2 separate regions of the Homo sapiens genome follow, and region 2 is linked to region 1. The links are contacts of gene promoters, found by promoter capture Hi-C in blood cells and fetal thymus (Javierre and others, 2016). All regions are on one chromosome and are shown on one strand. Each heading gives the region's core, a stretch centred on a gene start or on the middle of the fragment in contact. The rest is flanking DNA. Distances are from core to core; before and after follow the strand shown.

What was found. The method cuts DNA at HindIII sites, captures the fragments that hold promoters and counts their contacts. A CHiCAGO score of 5 or more calls a contact.
Region 2: a fragment that was not itself captured here is called in contact with the fragment with the promoter of OSBP in region 1 in 1 of 17 cell types (naive CD8 T cells); the score reaches 5.3 in naive CD8 T cells.

Annotation. Positions count from the first base shown.
Region 1 is chr11:59,613,611-59,618,712 of GRCh38, reverse strand. It overlaps OSBP (oxysterol binding protein), which reads left to right and starts at 2,939. Exons shown (of 14, transcript NM_002556.3): 1 at 2,939-3,410. The coding sequence starts at 3,049. LOC101927226 (a long non-coding RNA gene) reads right to left here and starts at 2,759. Exons shown (of 3, transcript XR_001748237.2): 1 at 2,538-2,759. RefSeq lists an enhancer at 2,477-2,566 and silencers at 2,767-3,066, 3,087-3,306. The HindIII fragment of the contact is 16,614 bases long and covers 1-5,102 here.
Region 2 is chr11:57,531,708-57,536,809 of GRCh38, reverse strand. No RefSeq gene overlaps it. Among named protein-coding and RNA genes, the nearest start is that of SMTNL1, 3.3 kb to the left of the region's middle. The HindIII fragment of the contact is 4,634 bases long and covers 296-4,929 here.

The sequences.
Region 1 (5,102 bases), core at 1,690-4,189:
GTGTGTGTGTGTGTGTGTGTGTGTGAGAGAGAGATAGGGCCTCACTCTGTCAGGCTGGAGTGCAGTGGCACAATCACAGCTCACTGTAGCCTCGACCTCCTGGGCTCAATCAGTCCTCCCACCTCAGTCTCCCAAGTAGCTGGAACTACAGGCACAGGCCTCCATGCCCAGCTAATTTTTTTGTTTTGTTTTGTTTTGCTTTTGTTTTTAGTAGAGACAGGTTTATTTATGTTGCCCAGACTGGTCTCTTATCTTTCTTTTTTGCTGAACCATTTCAAAGAGAGTTACGGATATCATAACTCTTCACTCCTACGTTTCTCCAAGTTGTAAAGATGTTTTCCCCCATGTCCAGCATACCATTATTACAATGAACAAATGTAATAACTAACAACATCTGATACCAGTCCATTTTCAAATTTCCCCAATTGTCTCAAAAATGTCTAAAAGCCTGCTTTTTCAGAACCAGAATCCAATTAAGCATTTGATTGTATCTCTTTAAGTTTTTTTTCAAATTTAGAACAATCACCCCTGACCATTTTTATGACATTGATTTTCCTTGATCTTTATGTCTTATCTTCTATAAAATAGTTGTCTTATAGAATGCTTCACGTTCTTGATTTATCTGATTATCTCCTTGGGGTTATGGTTCAACTGGTTCCTCCAGCCCAGTAAACTGGAGTTTAGATCCAAAGCCTTGATTAGATTAACTTTCAGTATTTTGGCAAGAAAACACCATTAAGTGATGCTGTATACTTTATGCTGCAGCACACTGGGAACTTCATAAAAATGTTGGTTGTCCAAGGGTTACTGATACACATTGGATAACTGGGTTAAGGTGGGGACTGCCAGATCTCCCCATTGTAAAAGTATGTTTCTCCTTTGTGATGGCAAGTAACCTGTGAGATGTGTTTGGCAACACAACTCACATGTTTGTAGCTATCTACAGTTTATCAAACACATTCAAACGCACTTAATCACAACAGCATCCCTGTGAGGTTTTATTCCTGTTTAACATAAGTGAAAACTGAGACTTGGAGTGCTTAAATAATTTTCTCAAAGTAATAGACCCAGTAAGTAGCAAAAGCAGGACTCAAGCCTAAATGGATTAACTCTAGCTCAGTTAAAAAAAAAATTAATCCCAAATAGCCTACATCTAATAGCAGATTTTATTTTGCTCTACACATTCAGAGAAATTCACTAGTAATGAGCTATACAAATGATCCCTGATAGTAAAAATTGCAGATTTTTAAAGAGTATTCTCTCTCCAGAATTCAATAAATACTTCGCTTCTTTTGAAACGATTTTCTTAAAAAGGATACTTTAATTTATTGACACTGGGAAGCACATTGGCAAAGAAAGTCAATTTCTTTTACAGTATCTAATAGCTATTTCTATTGCCTGTTCAAACTAGCAAAATGTAACAGATGCTAGATTCCCTAAAGTACGGCGCTTTAGGTTACATTTGCAACAATAGCTTACATCTAAATGTTACATTAGTTACTGAATTTGTAATCTTCACAAATGTGTGAATAGTCAGTTGATCAAAAATAACGATTTCCTGCTACAAGAGAACGCATAGCAGAAAATGTTCCCAACACAAAGATAATGTTTGAGATGATGGATATCCCAATTACACTGATTTGATAATTATACATTGAATACATGTATCACAATATCAGATGTATCCCTGAAAATATGTACAACTATATCAGTTTAAAGATATAAAAAAAATTTTCTGTCCAAAGTTAAATATGTACAACTACGATATATCAGTTTAAAGATACAAAAAATAATAATTTTCTGTTCAAAGTTAAGCATATACATGGCACCTATGATGCTAAAACCAAGGGCCTTTAGGTCTGGAAGAGACACATAAAGTCAGGTCCTCGCGAATCTACTTCTGAAGGGGACAGAATCGGTATAGGCATATGACAGTCTAGAATCAAGACACAAGGGGTGTGGAGCGATAAAGAGCAAACAGGGAAGGGAACTAGGGGGACCATGGATCCAGGAAGGGGCTGGAAAAGCTACTTCTGGGCACCCCTGGAATCTGGGTATCCAGCTTCGAGTTAGAAGGGGGTCCTTCAAGAGAGCCTCAGGCGGGGGCTGACTGCCGAGAGTTACTCTGTCCTCCAGGTTCTTCCTAACAAGAAGCTACGAAGTTCTTATTCAGAAAAACGGAACACGACATCACACCCACGTGAAAAAAACGCTTTTAAGAGGCCAAGTCACTTTCACCTCCCACCAACTTGCCAAAGGCTGAAAGCAGGCGGACACGCCCCCAAGCGCTCTTCTCCGATTTCATTGGTTGCCCCGGCCTGCTCCTCATTAGGTCTCTCTCACTGGTCAGCAATGCCGCTTTCACAGCCAATTCTCAGAACCAATCATCTCCAACTATTGCCCCGCCTCTCCACCACGTGAGTGGCATAGGTGCCAACCAATAAAAAAAGAAAATAAGGATGTAAAGACGAGACTCCTTCCCTTTTTCCTCAACTCGTTCAGTAAATGGTAGAAAAGGTGGAGCAGCTGATACCAACCACCAATCCATGAGGGCGGAAAAGGATGATGAGAAGAGCGATGGGAGGGGGTGACGTGGCAGTGACAGGCGCATAAACTGAAATGAATGGCGGAAACAGCAGCCAATCGGCGATCAGATTGGCCGGGCATTCCGCATTCTCCCGTCCTCCCTGAGCGCTGGAAACTTCAGGAAAGCACCAATGAGCTTCCCCAAAAGTCTGATTGGCCTTTATCTGAACCAATCAAAGGTGGGTCTGGCGGACGCGTCCCACCCCAGGCTCTCACTGGGCGCTGTAGAATGACAGGCCCGAGAGAAATGCCAATATCCGCGGGGTCTTCCTCAAGTGACACTCAGCGGCACCAATCGACGTCCTTCTTCCCGGCGGCCGAGCCCTCCTCCCCGCGGCTGGCCGGGCGGGGCGGGGACGCTGCGCGGCGGTGGCTGATGCGGTAGCCGTGTGGGGCGCTCCGGGCGGCGACGGCGGCTCTCGTAGGCGGTTCCGGTCTTGTATCTCCAGGCGGCGGCGGCTCATGGCGGCGACGGAGCTGAGAGGAGTGGTGGGGCCAGGCCCGGCAGCCATTGCAGCACTTGGCGGCGGCGGCGCCGGTCCCCCAGTGGTGGGAGGAGGCGGCGGCCGCGGAGATGCGGGGCCAGGCTCCGGGGCCGCGTCAGGGACGGTGGTCGCGGCGGCGGCGGGAGGCCCGGGCCCGGGGGCCGGGGGAGTGGCGGCGGCTGGCCCGGCCCCTGCGCCGCCGACTGGGGGCTCGGGCGGCTCGGGCGCTGGGGGTTCGGGCTCGGCTCGAGAGGGCTGGCTCTTCAAATGGACCAATTATATCAAAGGCTACCAGCGGCGATGGTTCGTGCTGAGCAACGGGCTCCTGAGCTACTACAGGTAACTGCTTCCGGGGCGCTGTCGCTCACCTTGCCTCCCCCATATCTGCCAACAGTCCCAGCTCCGGCATTACCGCCAGCCGGCACCGCAGCCAGGGTTGCCCCAGGCCCCTTTTCGTCATCTGTGCGGATTGACAGCCCAGGGGTCGGAGCCCACTGTCACGAAAGTGAAAAGCCCCTGGACGTACACCTCCCCTCCCCTCGGGTTACCCACTCTTGGTGCCTTATCTTCCCTTCGCTCCCGGCCTTTCCAGTCATTAGTCGTTTGGAGAGCGTCTGTGCTTCCATTGTATTTCCACCAGCACATGGGTGCAATTATTAATTCTGCAAGCAAGGCACTGGTGTAGGTACTAAGGGAACACATGCAGCAGAACAAACCCGAGGCACTCCTCCCAAGGAACTTACAGTGGAAGTCCCAAGTTGTAGCTGTCAGTGCCCAGTCTCCAAAACTCAAGGTTATTCGTAGCTCTGGATGTACCCGTCCTTGCTCCCTTCACATTCAGACATAAGGGCATCACACACACAGGGTGGCTTCGGTATTCCGTCCCCTTTCTGCCTTATCTCTCCAAGACTTTGCATGTGCTTTGGCCTCTGGACAGCCCAGAATGGAGATGTGCACCCCAGTGCTGCTTTTATTTTTGCTTGCCCCACCTCCTCCCGTGGAAATGATTAAGTGTTTTATCTGGCATTTCTGTGATTTTTTGGTTAGTTAGGATTAACTTTTATTAAAAGAAGAATCCATGTCTTTGGTGTGATTACTTCTGTTCAACAAGGTTTATTTTGGACTGTTTAATATATATTTATGGTGACTCATAACCTGGCCATCACATGGCACGCTTTTGGGCTAAAAAGGATAGAGGAGTTAAGATAGGTGATTTGGGGACAGGGCGTAAACATTTCCTGAGGGCTGGACAATGTGTCTAGGTGTTTTATATACAGTATTTCATTATAGTATTTTGTTGACTCCCAACAACAACCCTAGGAGTTGGGAAATATTCCCATCTTACTGATGAGGAAAACAGACTTAGCATGGGCAACTTTCCCAAGGTTTTTGAGCAGCTGGGATTTGAAACTACTTCTGTTCACACTAATCTAACCTAAAACTCAGGTTAGTGTGAAATGAATCGGTCAGTTACAGAGATAATTGCTTATCAATAGCAAGTAATTTTATGGATCATGCTTACTATGTGTATTTTATGCAAAAAGTATAAAAGTCTCCTTTAAGGGATATTTTGCTTAATGACATTCCAATTGAAATATTTTTTTCCAGAGACCATCCTCTTTGAGACCCAAAACACTGATGTTGAAGAGCAGCTCACTCTATATTTCTTTTCCTTCACCAGGAATCATTCTGCTACCCAGAGAGTTAGGCTGAACAAGTCTCTTTTCCATCAACTCCACTGTATTGGCTCTTAGAGAATTTTGAGGAGAAATTGAAGGTGGGAGTTGGAGGTTGTTGGCAGGAACACATTTTTACCTGTCCTCTTACAGGGCAAAATGCCTTAGATAGCTCATCCTCACTGCTTAATCAACAGTTGTGAATAATTGTATATTTCATTTGCATTACTGTATTCAGAATTGATTTTAATTATGACCCTTTCGAACTACTTATCCAGGACCATCCATTTAAACTTAGATTACAAATCTAAAATTTTAATTTCCCCAGATTTTTCTCTCATTCAAGTTCATGTTT
Region 2 (5,102 bases), core at 1,363-3,862, 2.1 Mb after region 1:
CTTGAAGCCAGGAGTTCAAGAACAGCATGGTCAACAGGGTGAAACCCTGTCTCTACTACAAATACAAAAATTGGCCGGGCTTGGTGGCGCATGCCTGTAATCTCAGCTACTTGGGAGGCTGAGGCACGAGAACTGCTTGAACCTGGGAGGCAGAGGTTGCAGCAAGTCACTGCACTCCAGCTTGGGTGACAGAGACTCCATCTCAAAAAAAAGTCTTCACTTTCTCTGTGTGTTTTACAATCTAAGAAAGGCACTACTTTTGGAGAATGGGTGCAGAGGACACTCCCACGAAGCTTGGGATCCCCCCCAGTCCTCCTACCCCAAGCCCCACCACTGGGCCACACTGGCCTCCTTCCTATTCCTTAAATAAATCCATCCCTTTTCAGACTCAGGACTGGTTTTTCCTTCTACTCTTTGTAAGACTGCCTCCCTCTCATTCTTCTGGACTTAGCTGAAATTTCATTCCCTCAGAGAGGTTTTCCATGACCTTCAATTCCTCTCCCTCATTTCAGCAGTTTTTATTGTCCTCATAATACTAAATCTAAAATTACCTTATTCATTTCCTTATTATCTGACTCTCTCACTAGGCTTTAAGCTCCATGAGGGCAGGGATTTTATCTACCATACTCATGGCTGTATGCCTAGATCCCAGCAGAATTGCCTGGCTCATATTAGGTACTTGATAAATACATACTGAATGAAATAACTAATTAATTAACAGAAATATGACAGGAACTTGGAGGTCTTGCCCGGGATGATCTGAAAGAGAGATCTTTCTGTGCATCTAGGTTTGGGTACTAGTCATGAAATAGTCCAATATTAATGGTTGCCAGCCGGCTCTAGTAATACTTGAAACCCGGCTGGGATTATAGGCATGAGCCACCATGCCCAGAGTATTTTGCTCTTTTCAATATCTAATGACAGTAGGATAAGAGAAATGAATTTAAACAAAAAACCAGCAAGCCAGAGAGAGATGTGGAAAAACTCGCCAATCTTGGGCAGATATACTCTGGATGGATGCTGTTTTGAGAATAAAGTGAAGAAGCATGGATAGAAGTGGGGAGAGCAGTCAGGAGACAAACTCAGTGACCCTGGTGCAGGATGGTGGTGGCTTGGACCACAGTATCAGCCATGGAGGTAAGAAGAAGTGATGGGAAACAGTAATAGTGCAGACAGTGATTAAGCCAGGGCCAGCTTTTTCTTCAAGTGAATAGAATGACGTAAGCCATTTCATCACAAGGGAGGTTACAGGAAACCTCTGTTTTTGTATTCTCTGCACCTCTCATGAGTGGTCAGGGCCCACTTGAAGTGATTCTAGATGAAAACTCTGCATCTCTTCTTCTGGGGCTGGGGTCCCACCCAAGAGGACAATACTGACCCACGATGAATGACAAATATACAACTCACCTTTGCAAGGTTGGGAAGGGGTAGAATGCAGGGTAGAATGAGGAGCCAGAGTTTCAGCATGGTGTTGACAGAGATCAGTAGCTTTGGATGACATATCTGGAGTCTAAGGATATCTTCAAAGTCTGAGGCTATCTAAACTGTCTTCTACAAGAAGCAATTCAACTGGGACCATTGGAGATTCCTACCTGTAGGTCTCCACATAGAGGAAAGACACAGTCTCATAGTAAATAATCATAATAACAATAGCATCATCATCAATAAGAGCAATGGTTTTCCAGAGGCTGAGCAGCTGGGGAGATGGAGAGTTGCTGTTCAATGGGTATACAATTTCAGTTATGCAAGATGAATAAGTTCTAGAAATCTGTGTACAATATGGTACATATAGTTAACAATACTATTTTGTGCACTTAAAAATTTGTTGGCCGGGCGCGGTGTATAAAGCACTTTGGGAGGCCAAGGCAGGTGGATCATGAGGTCAGGAGACTGAGACCATCCTGGCCAACATGGTGAAACCCCATCTCTACTAAAAACACAAAAATTAGCTGGGTGTGGTGGCATGCGCCTGTAGTCCCAGCTACTTGGGAGGCTGAGTCAGGAGAATCCCTTGAACCTGGGAGGCAGAGGCTGTAGTGAGCGGAGATCGTGCCACTATCCTCCAGTCTGGTGACAGAGCGAGACTCCGTTTAAAAAAATTTTTTTTGTTAAGCAGGGCCCAGTGCAGTGACTCATGCCTGTAATGCCAGTGCTTTGGGAGGCTGAGGCAGGAGGATCGCTTGAGGCCAGGAGTTTGAAACCAGCCTGGACAACATAGCAAGACCCTATCTCTACAAAAAATTTTAAAAACCACTCAGGCATGGTGGCTTGCGCCTGTAGTCCTAGCTATTCAGGAGGCTGAGATGGGAGGATTGCTTGAGCCCAGGAGTTTAAGCTAACAGTGAGCTATGATTGGGTCTCTGCACTCCAGGCTGAGCGACAGAGACCCTGTCTCAAGGAAAAAATAAATAAATAAAAGGGCTTTATCTGTTAGAGATAAAAATAGATGAAGAAAATATGGACAAATGTTAACAATTCCTAAGTCCTGGTGATGAATATATGGAAGCTCAATGTCCTGTTCTCTCTGCTTTTCTGTATGTTTTAAATATTCCATCTGGGCATGGGGTGGCTCATGCCTGTAATCCCAGCACTTTGAGAGGCCAAGACAGGAGGATTGTTTGAGCCCAGGAGTTTGAAACCAGCCTGGGAAACATGATGAGACCCTATCTCTTAAAAAAAAAAATTAGCCAGGCATGGTGGCTCATGCCTCTAGTTCCAGCTACTTAGGAGGCTGAGGTAAGAGGATTGCTTAAGCCAAGGAGTTCACGATTGCAGTGAGCACTGATCATACCATTGCACTCAAGCCTGGGTGACAAGGCAAGATCCTGCCTCAAAAATCCTAAGTAAAAATAAAAATAAATTTGCCCCAGTGAAAGTTTAAAAATGAAAAAGAATGAAAACAATGATTTATTTTTATTGAGCATCTACCATGGACTAGGTACTTTACTTACACAATCTTTTATATAAATATTTTTCTTTCTTTCTTTATGGCCAGCTCTTACTCATACTTGTATAATCTTATTTGTTTTCTTTTTTGTAGAGATTTTTAAAACTTTTTATTTAGAAATAATTATAGTTTCACAGGAAGTTGCATTAATAGTACAGAGAGGTCCTGTACGCCCTTTACCAACTTCCACTAAAGGTTAAATCTAACATAACTATATTCAATATCAAAGCCAGATAATTTATATTGGTACAATGTGTGTGTGTAGTAGTTCTATGACTTTTTTTTTCTTTCTTTTTTTTTTTTAGACCGAGTCTTGCTCTGTCGCCCAAGCTGGAGTGCAGTGGCACAATCTCGGCTCACTGCAACTTCTGCCTCCCGCCTCCCGGGTTCAAGCGATTCTCCTGTCTCGCCCTCCTGAGTAGCTGGGACTATAGGCGCATGCCACCACACCCGGCTGATTTTTTTTATTTTAGTAGAGACGGGGTTTCACCATGTTAACCAGGATGGTCTCGATCTCCTGACCTCGTGATCCACCCGCCTCGGCCTCCCAAAGTGTTGGGATTACAGGTGTGAGCCACCGCGCCTGGCTTTTTTTTTTTTTTTGAGACGGAGTCTCACTCTGTCGCCTGGGCTGGAGTGCAGTGGCACGATCTCGGCTCACTGCAACCTCCACCTCCCGGGTTCAAACGATTCTCCTGCCTCAGGCTCCTGAGTAGCTGGGGTTACAGGTGCCCGCCACTACCCCCAGCTAATTTTTTGTATTTTTAGTAGAGACGGAGTTTCACCAACAAGGCTGGTCTCGAACTCCTACCTTGTGATTCGCTCGCCTGGGCCTCCCACAGTGCTGGGATTACAGGCGTGAGCCACCGCACCCTGCCAGTTCTATGACATCTTATCACCTGTGTAGATTCTTGTAACCACCACCACAATCAGGATACAGAATTATCCATCAACACAAAGATCTCTCTTGTGCTACCCTTTACAGGTACACTTCTATCTCCCCATCAACCCTAACACTAGACAATCAGAAATCTCTTCTCCATCTCTATAATTTTGTGATTTTGAGAATGTTACTTAAATGAAATCATACAGTATGCAACCTTTCATAAGGCCCAGTAGATATTGCAAGATTCCTCTTGTAAGAAACCATCTCCTTTTCCCACGCAGTTTCTTAACTTTCCATAATGTTTCTTTTTTGCGGGGAGTGGGGGGTCGGAGTTTCACTCTTGTTGCCCAGGCTGGAGTGCAATGGTGCGATCTTGGCTCACTGCAACCTCTGCCTCCCGGGTTCAAGTGTTTCTCCTGCCTTAGCCTCCTGCTTAGCCTCTTGAGTAGCTGGGATTACAAGCACCCGTCACCACACCGGGCTACTTTTTTGTATTTTTAGTAGAGATGGGGTTTCACCAAGTTGGCCAGGCTGGTCTCGAACTCCTGACCTCAGGTGATCCACCCACCTCAGCCTCCCAAAGTGCTGGGATTACAGGCGTGAGCCACTGCACCCGGCCAATGTTGACTATATTTTCAAAGGCAAAAACCAAGGCAAGATATGTCCATCTGTACAAGAGTATCATAGCAGCATTATTGCATAATAGGCAAAAACTGGAAACAATCCAAACATCCACCAACGGGAGAATGGATAGATGAATTGTGGCATACTCATACAATCAAACACTAGACAGCAATAAAACAGAAGGAATAACAGATGCACACAACAATATGGAGGAAATCTTACAGGTACATTGAGCTAAAGAAGTCAGGCACAAAATAGAAAATAATGTATAATTCCATTTACACGAAGTTCAAGAACAAGGAAAACTAATTGATGGTGATAGAGGTCAGAATAGTGGTTAACTTCGAGAGGGGGTATTGATGGGGAAGGAACACAAGATAACTTTTTGGGGTGCAGGAAGTATTTTATATCTTGATCTGGATGGCGGTTATACAAATGTACATATATAGATACATATATATTTAATTAAGCTTAACATTCGTGTATTTTATGCACTTTATGAATGTTATACCCCAATCTTTAAAAATCAGGGCACAAGTTTGGCAAAGATGAGTCTTCAAAGCAGTAGAAAGGTCAATTGTTTAAAATTAGGATGGTCTTGGACAATTAGGGAAGCTTATGATGACCACACAGAAAATGTCTAGC